Linked DNA regions of Homo sapiens: region 1 is linked to region 2. The links are contacts of gene promoters, found by promoter capture Hi-C in blood cells and fetal thymus (Javierre and others, 2016). All regions are on one chromosome and are shown on one strand. The core of a region is centred on a gene start or on the middle of the fragment in contact, and the rest is flanking DNA. Distances in the headings are between cores, read along the strand shown. Region 1 overlaps NR2C1 (nuclear receptor subfamily 2 group C member 1). Region 2 holds the start of ACTR6 (actin related protein 6).

What was found. The method cuts DNA at HindIII sites, captures the fragments that hold promoters and counts their contacts. A CHiCAGO score of 5 or more calls a contact.
Region 1: a fragment that was not itself captured here is called in contact with the fragment with the promoter of ACTR6 in region 2 in 1 of 17 cell types (non-activated CD4 T cells); the score reaches 6.6 in non-activated CD4 T cells.

Annotation. Positions count from the first base shown.
Region 1 is chr12:95,066,129-95,069,313 of GRCh38, reverse strand. NR2C1 (nuclear receptor subfamily 2 group C member 1) reads left to right here. Exons shown (of 14, transcript NM_003297.4): 2 at 1,923-1,983. The coding sequence starts at 1,930. Among named protein-coding and RNA genes, the nearest start is that of NR2C1, 5.9 kb to the left of the region's middle. The HindIII fragment of the contact is 9,664 bases long and covers 1-3,185 here.
Region 2 is chr12:100,199,240-100,202,434 of GRCh38, reverse strand. It overlaps ACTR6 (actin related protein 6), which reads right to left and starts at 1,620. Exons shown (of 11, transcript NM_022496.5): 1 at 1,516-1,620. The coding sequence starts at 1,583. RefSeq lists enhancers at 1-512, 1,357-1,556, 1,530-1,824 and a silencer at 2,317-2,676. The HindIII fragment of the contact is 11,223 bases long and covers 39-3,195 here.

The DNA of each region.
Region 1 (3,185 bases), core at 158-2,657, 5.1 Mb after region 2:
TATATATTGATCTAATGAGTCCCTGGAATTCATTCAGATAAACAAATAGTTTATCTCCCTAAGTTTTCATTAGGAGGTGACTTCTTTGAGTCTAATGCACCAATACACTGGTGTTGATTTTAGGATTTCTGGAAGAGATTTCTTATTTGTTTATTACTTTAATTTTTGTGGTAATCCTTGTATTTAAGCAAAATTTAAAAGCATCAAACACTTATTCAATGAAAAATAAGTCTCCCTTCCATTCCTGTTTCCAAACTTGCAGTTTCTTTCCTTGGAGGTACTTATTGGATCCATTTTCTTTCTTATGTGTCCTTTTAAGATGTAGTTTTTCTTTTTCTTTTTTTTTCTTTTGAGACAGAGTCTCTCTCTGTCACCCAGGCTGGAGTGCAGTGGCACGATCTTGGCTCACCACAGCCTCTGCCTTCCAAGTTTATGGGATTCTTCTGCCTCAGTCTCCTGAGTAGCTGGGATTACGGGCACCCGCCACCATGCCTGGCTAATTTTTTTTTTTTTTTTTATGAGACAGAATTTCACTCTTGTGGCCCAGACTGGAGTGCAATGGTGCAATCTCGGCTCACCGCAACCTCCGCCTCCCAGGTTCAAGTAATTCTACTGCCTCAGCCTCCTGAGTAGCTGGGATTACAGGCATGTACCACCACACCTGGCTAATTTTGTATTTTTAGTAGAGATGGCGTTTCACCATGTTGGCCAGGCTAGTCTCAAACTCCTGATCTCCGGTAATCAGCCCACCTTGGCCTCCCATAGTGCTAGGAATACAGATGTGAGCCACCGGGGCCGGTCCAAGTGTAGATTTTCTTGTCTTTAGGCAGCATTTTAAAGTTTTATTTGCCTACCTAGATCTTGCATGTTCCTTATTGGGTTTATGCCTGAGTGTTATGGGCTGAATTCGGTTCTCCCACAAAATCATATGAATCCCAAATTCCTATGGTGATGTCCTGACCACCAGTACCTCAGAATTGAGTATATTGGAGATAAGGCCTTAAAAGAGATAATTGAGTTAAAATTAGTTCATTAGAGTGTACCGTAATCCAAAATAACTGATGTCCTTCTATGAAGAGGACACAGACACTCAGAGGGAAGACCGTATAAACATATAAAGATACATGGAGGGCTGGGGCCGGGTGCAGTGGCTCACGCCTGTAATCCCAGCACTTTGGGAGGCCGAGGCAGGCAGATCACGAGGTCAGGAGATCAAGGCCATCCTGGCTAACACAGTGAAACCCTGTCTCTACTAAAAATACAAAAAAATTAGCTGGCGTGGTGGCAGGTGCCTAGTCCCAGCTACTTGGGAGGCTGAGGCAGGAGAATGGCATGAACCCAGGAAGTGGAGCTTGCAGTGAGCCAAGATCATGCCACTGCACTCCAACCTGGGTGACAGAGCAAGACTCCATCTCAAAAAAAAAAAAAAAAAAAAGATACATGGAGGGGTGGGCATGGTGGCTTATGCTGATAATTCCAATACCAACACTTGGGAGGTCGAGACAGGAAGATTGCTTGAGCCCAGGAGTTTGAGGCCAGCCTGGGCAACACAGTGAGACCCCATCTGTACAAAAAATAAAAAATTAGCCAGGTGTGGTGGTGTATACCTGTAGTTCCAGCTACTCAGGAGGCTGAGGTGGGAGGATCACTTGAGCCCAGGAGGTTGAGACTGCAGTGAGCCGTGATGGTGCCCCCTACACTCCAGCCTGGGTGGGCCTTGTTTTAAAAAAAAAAAAAATAAAAAAGACACATGGAAAAGGCAACCCATGAATGGAAAAAAGAAACTTCAGAAAAAGCCAACCCTCCCACCTTAACTAGATTATTTTGAAGCAAATCTTAAATATCATATAGTTTTATTTGTAAATTATTTAATAAGAGTGTTTTGTGAGTTTAATTATAAAACATCTTTTTATTTTTGGCAGGTAGATCATGGCAACCATAGAAGAAATTGCACATCAAATTATTGAACAACAGATGGGAGAGGTATGTCTAGTTTACGGTTGATGCACTGGCCCACCAAACTTTTCTAATTCCTACTAAATGCATATACCAGGTTCTGGAGTTCCAGAAATAAAAGATATTCCCTAACTTAAGATAGCTTTTCAAGCTACTGAGAGATAGTTGAATAATCAGACAATTCATAGTAGAATGTGGTAAGTTCTGTGACAGGTCATTGTATCAGGTGCAATGGGAGCACAGAAGAAAATTGAAAGGAATGAAGGGAAGGAAGGAAGGAAAGAAATTAAAGAGCTGTAGAGTGAGTAGGAATGCTTTTGAGGGAATTCTTTTTAGAGGGTACAATCTGAGCCTAGTTTTGGTGGGATCAGTAGGAGTTCAGCATCAATACTGACATCTTCATTTTTTTAAATGGTTGTGTCCTATTACTTAGTAAGAGATACCACATAATTTGGAAGTTCTCAAAGTATTATCTGGGGACACTTCAGAGAATCAACCAGGTGAAGACCATTTTTATAATAATACTGAAATGTTATTTGCCTTTTCAGTATTGTTCTCTCCCAGGTATACAATGGAATTTTCTACAGACTGTGTGACATGTGATGATACTATATGATGAAATGTGTCAGCATTTATAAGGTGTACATAACTCAATGAATCATTGCTTTCCGGATGACCAGTGTATAATGTTACAAAATTATGCATGAGTGAAGGATCCATTTAAATTGCAGGATAGACCAACAGATTTTAATATAGTTTATGACTCTACATTGCTGCTAACCTTTGAAAAGCTGCCACTTGTTGAGTTGATGTAGTGTCGAACAACTTTCACAGTTTGAAAAGGGTATTAAAATATCCTTCCCCTTTTCAACCAATAAATACGAAGCTGAATTTTCTTTAACATATATACATATATGTATGTATGTATATGTATATATATGGTGAAGAAATAGGTTTCCGGCTGATTTTTTGTGGCCATTTTTTGTGCTCACGTGCCTGGCTGATGTTTTATATATTTTGTAGCAACAGGGTTTTGTCATGTTGCCCAGGCTGGTCTGGAGCTCCTGGGCTCAAGCAGTTCACTGGCCTTGGCCTTCCAAAGCGCTGGGATTACAGGCGTGAGGTGCTGTGCCCAGCCTTGTTATAACCAAAACAACATAGTCTAACAGATTAAATAAAGAAACAGATATGAGATTCCAACTTCTGTTAAACTAGATATTAAAGCAATT
Region 2 (3,195 bases), core at 371-2,870:
TGTTTAAATGTTCTTTGAAGACATAATTTTAAGAAGCTTGAATTTGTTATCAGTCTCAGGTTGTATTTTGGTGTATTTAGCCAATATGCTATTCCTGATTATTTAGCTTCCTTCCCATTTTTTGGCTGCCTGTATACGATGACTATGAATAATACAAAGCACTTCTAATTAATTCTCTAGGTAATAACAGAATTGCTGTGTCATGGCCCGGTGCGGTGGCTCACACCTGTAATCCCAGCACTTTAGGAGGCTGAAGCAGGCAGATCACGAGGTCAGGAATTCCAGACCAGCATGGCCAAAATGGTGAAACCCCCGTCTCTACTAAAAATACAAAACTTAGCCAGGCGTGGTGGTGCGCAACTGTAGTCCCAGCTACTTGGGAGGCTGAGGCATGAGAATGGCTTGAACCCGGGAGGCAGAGGTTGCAGCGAGCCGAGATCGTGCCACTGCACTCCAGCCTGGACAAGAGAGCCAGACTCCCTCTCCAAAAAAAAAAAAAAAAATTGCTTTGTCAGCTGGGTGTAGGGCTCACGCCCCTAATACCAGCACTTTGGGAGGCCAACGCGGGTAGACTGCTTGAGGCCAGGGGCTCGAGACCGGCCTGGCCAACATGATGAAACCCCGTCTCTAACAAAAATACAAAAAATTCGCTGGGAGTGGTGGTGCACGCCTATAATCCCAGCTACTCTGGAGGCTGAGGCGGGAGAATCACTTGAATTCAGGCTGCAGTGAGCTGAGATCGCACCACGGCACTCCAGCCTCGGTGACAATGATAATGATACACATTGCCAAAACGTTTTCCAGAAAGATTGTAACAATTTACATTCCTACTCAGTTTGATTTCCCTCTTTCATTTCTGTTTCAAAAGAAATGAAAAAGAAGGAAAGGAGGGAGGAAGGAAAGAATTTTTTTTAATGCTCTGTTAATTTGATAAAGGAAAGGCGTGTCTTTAGGTTTGCTTATTTATTCAAACATATATTTTATGACTATACATGTTATGAATGCCATTGTATTAACAGTACTTCTGTTTAATTGACCTTACCAACTAGGTCGGCCAGTAGGCCAAAGTCTTCAAAGCCTCTAGATCCTAAGACCGTGATTTTTAGACTTTTGGAGGGTCATAGAACCCTTTGAGAATCTAATGAAACCTATAATCTTGTACCCAGGAAAATCCGCATACACCCAAACACCGTGCCCATAGTTTCCAAAGGCTGATGAACTTTACGGACCCTTCTGTCAGGAACGCATCTCTATAAGCCTATTTTCTTTGGCTATTTCCTGTTACGAAATAAAACATATATCCCACTTCCGGGGCCTCGCAGCCCAAAACTAAAACCAAAATCAATTTCAATTCAAAGCATCACAATCACCCACCCAGCTCCAACCAGGGAATCCCTCTGGCTAAGTCAGGGCCGCGCGGGGGTGTCTGCAGTTCATTGATGTCCGGAGATGAAACGTAGCACATGAAACCACTAGGCGTATATATCTTGTCCCTCGGAGAAAGAAAGTACTTACGACACATTTTCATGGCTGTAACCGATTTTGGCGTTGTAAGCTCCATTATCCAGCACTAAGGTCGTCATCTCACCACCAACCACACCGCAGCCGTAGTTGTTTTCCCTTTCCGACCCCTCTGCTCGAGCTTTTTCCGGTACTCTATGGTTTGTTGGGCGGAGCGTTAGGACGCGCCTCTGGTCACCTTAGCAACGGAGGACGCCGGAAGTCGGAGATGCTAAGCAGCACCGAATGTTAGGGGCTGTGCTTCCAAACTTAACCTGTTTATGTGGTGGCGAGATTTGACTACTATGTGCTTTCTCGCTCATTTCGTATTTGTTTTTAACTACGCAGATTAATTCGCGCAAGTTTTTTCTAATCCTGTAGAGAACCGGCTGCGTGTGTGTGTGTGTGTGTGTGTGTGTGTGTGTCTTCCAATCGCATTCTTCAGACGGTGACATTCTTTGAAGAAAAAAGTGCAAAACTTGCTCTTGGACTCACATTCATACTCTCCTCTTCCCCAGCCCACTTGCTCTTCAGGACGAAGCTGAGTGAGTCTTTCTCATCCAAAAAAGGCTTTTGGGCCGGACGCGGTGGCTCACGCCTGTAATCCCAGCACTTTAGGAGACCAAGGCAAGCAGATCACTTGAGGTCAGGAGCTTGAGACCAGCCTGACCAACACGGCGAAACCCCGTCTCTATTAAAAATACAAAAAGTAGCCGGGCGAGGTGGCGGGCGCCTGTAATCCCAAGTACTCGGGAGGCTGAGGCGGGAGAATTGCTTGAACCGGGGAGGCGGAGGTTGCAGTGAGCCGAGATGGCTCCACTACACTCCAGCCTGGGCGACAGAGCGAGACTCCGGCAGGGCGGGGACTTGGCAGGTGCGGGAGGCAGGACCTGGCTTCCGGGGCGTCGCGGGGGCAACGGCCAGCGGGCGGGGGCAAGGGCCAGCGGGCTAGGACAACTGCCAACGGGCTTGGAGGGGGGCGTTCTACAAATTCCAGGCCACTTTGAGCGCCTGAGAGAGGAGCGGGGCGGCGGGAAGGGGGCACCGCGGGGGCAGGGAGCGCAGCAGCCGCAGCGCGAAGGCGCGGGGGCCGGGGAACAAACGGTTGGCGCGCAGGCAGCCATACCGGGGCCGGAACCCGGGCAGAGGAGGGCAGCGACGGCGATGGGGAGGCTGCAGAGCCCGGGGCGGGTACCGCGCGGGAACCAGCGCGACTGCGTGGCTACCGCAGCCGTCGGTTCGTGTTGGACGGGCGCCGCTGCTGCCTCTGCTACTTCAAGAACCCCCACGACCCGCTGCCCCTCGGCCACCTGGACATAGCAGAAGCCTGCTTCAGCTACCAGCGCGCCGACGAGGCGGCGGAGCAGCCTGCGCACTTCCAGGTGCGCAGCGCGGGAGCCGCCACGGTGCTTGAGGTGGGAACTCGCGCCCTGCAAGCGCCTGGGCCCTTCTGTCGGCGCTCCTTGCCTCCCCTGGGGGCCTGCCCCATCCACCCTCCTTTCTCCAAGGCCTCCTCGCACCCTGCCAACGTCGGCCTGCCTTTCCCCACTTCTCCACATCCCGTCCTCGTTCCTATCTCCTCCCCTCCACCTGGGCTTAGGCCCGGGTGGCTGGGGCTACCCAGCCCAGTCTCCTTCCTCAGACACTTTGACCCATTATCTCCCTCTGCTCCTTCCCTCTGACCCCTCTCTAGTG